2 separate regions of the Homo sapiens genome follow, and region 1 is linked to region 2. The links are contacts of gene promoters, found by promoter capture Hi-C in human tissues and cell types (Jung and others, 2019). All regions are on one chromosome and are shown on one strand. Each heading gives the region's core, a stretch centred on a gene start or on the middle of the fragment in contact. The rest is flanking DNA. Distances are from core to core; before and after follow the strand shown.

Region 1 (2,932 bases), core at 386-2,885, 190 kb after region 2:
GATACAGCAGTGACTCAAACAACATTCTTTTCTTTCATGAAACTTATGCCTTGGGGTGAAGAAGACACCCCAATGAAACAGATCAACTGGGACAAGAGGGTTGAAGGAACTACACAGGATCAGGAGACAGAATAATATGGTGGCCTCTTTGGTGGTAGTCTGAGAAGTCTTCTTGGAGGAGGTGACATTTGAGCTGAAATAAGAATGATAACACAGTCAGACATGTATGTGACTGTCTGGGGTGCAAACATGGTACAAGTGAGCTTGGTGAGTTGGAAGCCCAGCAAGCAGCAGTTGCTATGGATTAAGCTGGGGAGGCAGAGGTGGGGAGGCAGCAGGGCCAGAATGTAGAGGGCAGGAATGTGTGCAGAAATAAGGGGCTCAGGTAAGGCGGAACCTTGAACTTGGGGTCCACCTTGGGGTCTTTGGGGGGAGTGGTACCTCAACCGGCAGCATCTCTGGTCACTAACACCCTGTGGGACCTCTGCTCAGAGAGGCTCAGAGTGGAAGAGACAGGTCCGTCTGGAAGGGACAGCCAGGACCCGGTGCAGAGGCAGGCTGTGGTTATCTGCAAACAGCCCCCTTCCTTCCAGCATGTCACGTGCTCCCGCCTGAGCCTCTGGCCGCAGGAATCAGGTGACCCCAGGCAGCGGGCCAGGCTGCAGGGGCGGGTGAGTGAGTCAATGTATGCAAGTGTGTGTGTGTGTGTGTGTGTGTGTGTGTTTTCATCTCTGGGAGGCCCAGACATCTGGGGTCTGAATTAATTGCCTTTTTCACAACCATGGACAAGTCCTGTATTTCCAGCTAGATTGAAAGCAAAACAAAACAAACCTATGTGCATAGCTCTGATCTGCTGAGCAGTGCCAGGGTCCTTGGGGGTTCGGGGAAGCCGTGGGAACCAGTCCTTCTCACTCAGACCCCTGAAGAGGGGCAGGGATCCTCTACTCATGCCCCCTAACCCACCTCCCGTGTCAGTACAAAGCCCCATTCTCTCTCTTTCCCCCAATCTGGGGCTATTTTTAGCCACTAAGAAGGATTATCAGTTTGGTTCCCAGGTGGCAGGGGCCAAGCTGGGAGTGGGGCCAGGGAGGCTTCAAACAGCAGCCAGGCTTGGGGGCGGGTGGGGTGAGGGGAGAAGAGGCTGGTCACACTGGCCCTGCCACCCACGCGGTGGCTCTGCAGATGACCCTGAAGCTGCTGTCGTCCAGCCCAGCCCAAACACTTCAGCTGCAGCTTTAAGGGAAGGTGGCAGGGGCAAGGAAAGCTTCCAGCAGCCTTAGGCACCTCAGATGCTGGAAACCGTCCTAAGGGCTTGGAAGAACCATCTAGAAGCCTCCATAGGCCAGCACCCCTTCTTTCCAGACCACTCCCCATCCTGCCCCCACCTCCTGTCTAGCAGTAACTATCACAGTCTAAGCTGTTTTTTGGGGGGTTTTTTTCCGAAACAGGATCTGCTCCGTCACCCAGGCTGGAGTGCAGTGGTGTGATCACAGCTCACTGCAGCCTCAAACTCCTGGGCTCAACCAGTCCTCTCACCTCAGCCTCCTGAGTAGCCGGGATTACAGGTGTGTGTCACTATGCCCACCTAATTTTTAAATTTTTTTGTCTTGCTATGTTGCCCTGGCTGGTCTCGAACTCCTGACCTTAAGCAATCCTCCCACTTCGGCCTCTCAAAGTGCTGGGTGTGAGCCACTGCACTCGGTCCTCTAAATTTTACTAGGTGCTCACTCCACCTCAGGTGCCATTCCGAACCACTCCATGTGGAAGAGGGGCTATTGTTTGTTCCATTTTACAGATAAAACTGAGGCACAGATAGGCCACGTTCCATGCCTGGTAAACGGGTGAGGCAGGAATCAGGAATCAGATCCGTTGTGATATCAGCATGGAGTGTTTATAAACTGCCCGCCTGCCCTGAGCCTCACAATAGCCTGGTAGAACAAGGAGGGAATCTAGCTGTACCCATTTTTCAGATGGGACAACTGAGGCCCAGGAAGACAGAGGATGACAGGGAACAAACAGAAGAACTGGATCCAAAAGAGAAAAGCTAGAAATTGAGGAACACATCCCTCAGCCTCATTTCCTCCCTTCCCTCAGGAGAAGTTGAGCCTTGCTGGCCTGAGGTGCCTGGTTATAGCCATGCCTGAGCCCCTCCCATATGCCAGACTCTGCCTCAATGCCCCAGGTGCAAGGTCTCTGAGCTGCTTAACCACCCTTCAGGGAGGGCACCTGTCCCACCAACAGGTGACGAAATTGAGGCTCCCAGGGCTTTGAAGCATTGCAGCTAGGACTCCAGCCAGTCTGCTGGGCTCCAGACCCTGTTCTTTTCTCAAACCACAGCATCTTTTATTTATGCTTTAAGAGGGAGAAGAGGGAAGGGACGAGACAGAGACAGGTTGGTGAGGTTAGTGAGAGAGTAGGACCTCTGGGGCCAGACCTCTGCAATCAGGGCATATCAGTCTGAAGCCTCCTTGGAGAGCTCCCTGGTTTAGAAAGTGCATCTGTTCCCCTTTCTGTGCCACTCAGGAAGCAATGGGCATGATTCAGCAGAGGAGAGGAGAGTTTAGAACTGGTTATGCTTCCTTCTCCAACCCTCCCTGCAAAAACACTGGCCAGCTCCTGACATCACAGTAAGACAGGGTTGCGGGAGGGTGCTTTAACAGGATCCAAAGCAGGGCAATTGGGCTGCTTTCAGGAGGAGGTGACAACTGAGCTGGGTTTTGAAGGATGCATAGGAGTTTGCCAAACAGAGAAAGAAAGCGTTTAAGCTCTTCAGGGCAGAGATGTTGCTTGTTTTCCCCACCATTTTGTGTCTTCAGCACCCAAATACTAAATGAGCATTCTAGGCAGAGGCCAGTATTTGTAAAGGCTAGGATGTGTGAAACGATATGGTCTGGTGGGAGCAGAGTATCAGTCAGTAAACTGGTGGGCATTG
Region 2 (3,162 bases), core at 101-2,600:
GCTTCCTGAGGGCATGGCTACCCGGGGCTCCTGGCTTTTCTTCCAAAAACAAAACATTTCTTCCATTTTTTCTTTTTCTTTTGTTTTTTTTTTTTTTTTTTTTTTTGAGACAGAGTTTCACTCTTGTCGCCCAGGCTGGAATGCAGTGGCCCAATCTCGGCTCACTGCAACCTCCGCCTCCCGGGTTCAAGCGATTCTCCTGCCTCAGCCTCCTGAGTAGCTGGAATTACAGGTGCCCCCCCACCACACTCGGCTAATTTTTGTAATTTTAGTAGAGATGGGGTTTTGCCATGTTGGCCAGGCTGGTCTCGAACTCCTGACCTCAGAGGATCCGCCTGCCTCGGCCTCCCAAAGTGCTGGTATTACAGGTGTGAGCCACTGTGTCCGGCCACCGTTTTTTTTTCCATTTTTTGAGACAGGGTCTTGCTCTGTTGCCCAGGCTGGAGTGCAGTGGCATGATCACAGCTCACTGCAGCCTCAACCTCCAAGGCTCAAGCAATCCTCACACCTCAGCCTCCTGAGTGGCTGGGACTACAGGTATGCACTACTACGTCAGGCTAATTTTTTAAAAAATTTTTGTAGTGACGCAGGTCTCTCTATATTGCCCGGGGTGGTCTTGAGCTCCTGGGCTCAAGCAATCCTCTGGCCTCGGCCTCCCAAAGTGTTGGGCTTACAGACATGAGCCACCATGCCTGGCCTAGAGAGTTTCTTTCTTGTTGGGGTTGTTCACCGGTGGGAGGTGCACCATTGTGCCGTGCTGACTATATTCATAGAGTTATGTAACCATCACTCTCATCTAATTTCAGAACAAAAGGAAACCCATACCCTCTCACAGTCAGTCCTTCATTCTCCCCTCCCCCCATCCTGTGGCCACCGCTAATTTACTTTCTGTTTCTATGGATTTGCCTGTGATCACAACCAGAGGATTTCTGTGACATGCTAAGTTACCTAACCATGGTGTGGAAGGAGAGGGAAATGGAGTGAAGTTGGGGACCCACCAGGGAACAGGTGGCTTGAGGGCGGGGGGAGCATGAAGGTAAGGGCTTGTTTGGGGGCTCAAGGCAGTCTGAGCCTTGTTCGCAGGCAGCCAGTGTCCACCAGGTGTGTGCAGGTGAGGGAAACAGGGGAAAAGGCCCTTTCTGGAGACAGTAGGGGTGCTGGCTGGGAGGCCTGGGATGGGGAGTGGGGAGGCAAGGGGGCCTGTGGGTCGAGGTTGGAGCTTGCTGTAGAAGAGGGAGAATTCCAGAGGCTGAGAGTGCAGGTGGAGAGGAGGAGGAAGGGAGGAGGGCGGGCAGGGGGTGGCTGGGTGGGGCTCTGTCTATAAAGAGTGAAGCTCAGCGTGTTGGTCCTGCAGATGGGACAGCTTGGCCTACAGCCCGGCGGGCATCAGCTCCCTTGACCCAGTGGATATCGGTGAGTCTTTTCCTTGAACATGACTGAGATGAACAGCTTTTCCCTCCAGCACAACTTGTTCCTACTTTATACAACCTCCTTCCCTTGCCATATGCCTGGGGCTTAAGAGGGGGGATGTTCCCAGTACCCACTCCCCTCCTCTTCCTCAGTCCTTACCACTTCCCTCCACGACCCCAGGTGGCCCCGTTATTCGTCCAGGTGCCCAGGGAGGAGGACCCGCCTGCAGCATGAACCTGTGGCTCCTGGCCTGCCTGGTGGCCGGCTTCCTGGGAGCCTGGGCCCCCGCTGTCCACACCCAAGGTACTGTGTTCGGCAATGCCTACCACCAAGTGCCCCTCTCCCCATGCCCCCACCCCACCCCTTTTGTCTCTTATCTCCTCCGGAAGTCTCCCCAATCCCATCTCCACTGAATTCTCCCGCTCCTGACATGCAGGAACTCCTGGTGTTTGGTTAGCTCTTGGGATGGGGTCGGGGAGATGGAGAGTCCCCAGTTCCTTCTTCGAGAGCCCCATGGAGTCTTTTGCAAGACTCCTAAAGATGTGAGGGAGCAGAGGGTGGCTTCCAGCTGTGGGCAAAGCCAGTTACTGCCAGGGATGTATTGTAGAATCCTAATCCTGCCGAGCCAGGGGTGGGGTTGGAGATCAGGGCCCTGGAGACTGACAAGAGTGGATTCCCATCCTGGTCCCTCCATGCAGTCCAGCTGAGAGTTAGTTGCTCCTAAACCATTTTTTTTTTTTTTTTTTTGAGACAGAGTCTCACTCTGTCACCCTGGCTGGAGTGCAGTGGCGCGATCTTGGCTCACTGCAACCTCCGCCTCCTGGGCTCAAGCGATCCTTCTGCCTCAGCCTCCCAAGTAGCTGGGACTACAGGCGTGTGTACCATGCCCGGCTAATTTTTGTATTTTTTAGTAGAGATGGGGTTTCACTATGTTGGCCAGAGTAGTCTCGATCTCCTGATCTCAGGCGATCCGCCTGCCTCAGCCTCCCAAAGTGCTAGGATTACAGGTTTGAGCCACTGTGCCCGGCTTCCTAAACCTTTAGGAGCCTCCGTTTCCTCAGCTGCAAAGTGGGAATCTAAAATTCCCACTGCATGGCTCTGACTTGAGGGTCCAGTGAGCTCATGCCTGCAAAAGACTAGGCCTCATGTCTGGCGGCGGCAATAGTAACTGTTCCTGTTATTAATAGGGAACTCTTTCCTTCTTCCCCACTCCCTACCGCAGAGCAAGCACTTGAGGATTTCAGTCGCCAAAGGACAATTCCTGGGCCTGGGGTGTCCCCACGGGAGCCCTGACACTGGGTCCTACATCCTCTGAGTTTCAGCAGCTGGCCAAAGCAGGGTCCCTGGCTGGGCGGCAGACCCAGGGTCCCACCCTCCTTCCCTGTCTGCCCCCACCTGACCCACCTGCCCCTCGGCTGGGTCTGATGGGTCCAAGTCCTTGGCCTTTGCCTGGGAAGGGGGTTGGGCTGTGGTCTGATTGTTTTGCTATCAGAGCCAGGCCCAGCCCAGCCCTTCGATCCTGGCCTCCAGCCTTGGGAACTACCTGCCTGGCACTGCAGTCCGAGGTTCCAACAGAATGCGCTGCCCCTTGCCCTCAGAGGCCGCGGTTGGGAGACACCTGGAGGGCTCGAGTCCTCCCTTTCCCTGCTCCTGCTGGGCTGGGCTCTGCAGGGACTCAGACTCGGCCTCTGGAGGTTAGTTCTGGCAGAGGTGAGATTGCAGAGAACTCCAAAGGCCATTTAGGCAGAGAAT

Evidence for each region. Contacts are between HindIII fragments. The study calls those that stand out against the background at their distance.
Region 1: a fragment that was not itself captured here is called in contact with the fragment with the promoter of CCL25 in region 2 in 1 of the 25 tissues and cell types used here (mesenchymal stem cells).

What each region holds. Positions count from the first base shown.
Region 1 is chr19:8,239,893-8,242,824 of GRCh38, forward strand. All of the region lies in intron 2 of CERS4 (ceramide synthase 4), which reads left to right. It overlaps LOC107985282 (a long non-coding RNA gene), which reads right to left and starts at 602. Exons shown (of 2, transcript XR_001753859.2): 1 at 442-602; 2 at 11-193. RefSeq lists a silencer at 624-673. The HindIII fragment of the contact is 3,994 bases long and covers 1-2,932 here.
Region 2 is chr19:8,051,410-8,054,571 of GRCh38, forward strand. It overlaps CCL25 (C-C motif chemokine ligand 25), which reads left to right and starts at 1,351. Exons shown (of 6, transcript NM_005624.4): 1 at 1,351-1,413; 2 at 1,591-1,713. The coding sequence starts at 1,641. The HindIII fragment of the contact is 31,009 bases long and covers 1-3,162 here.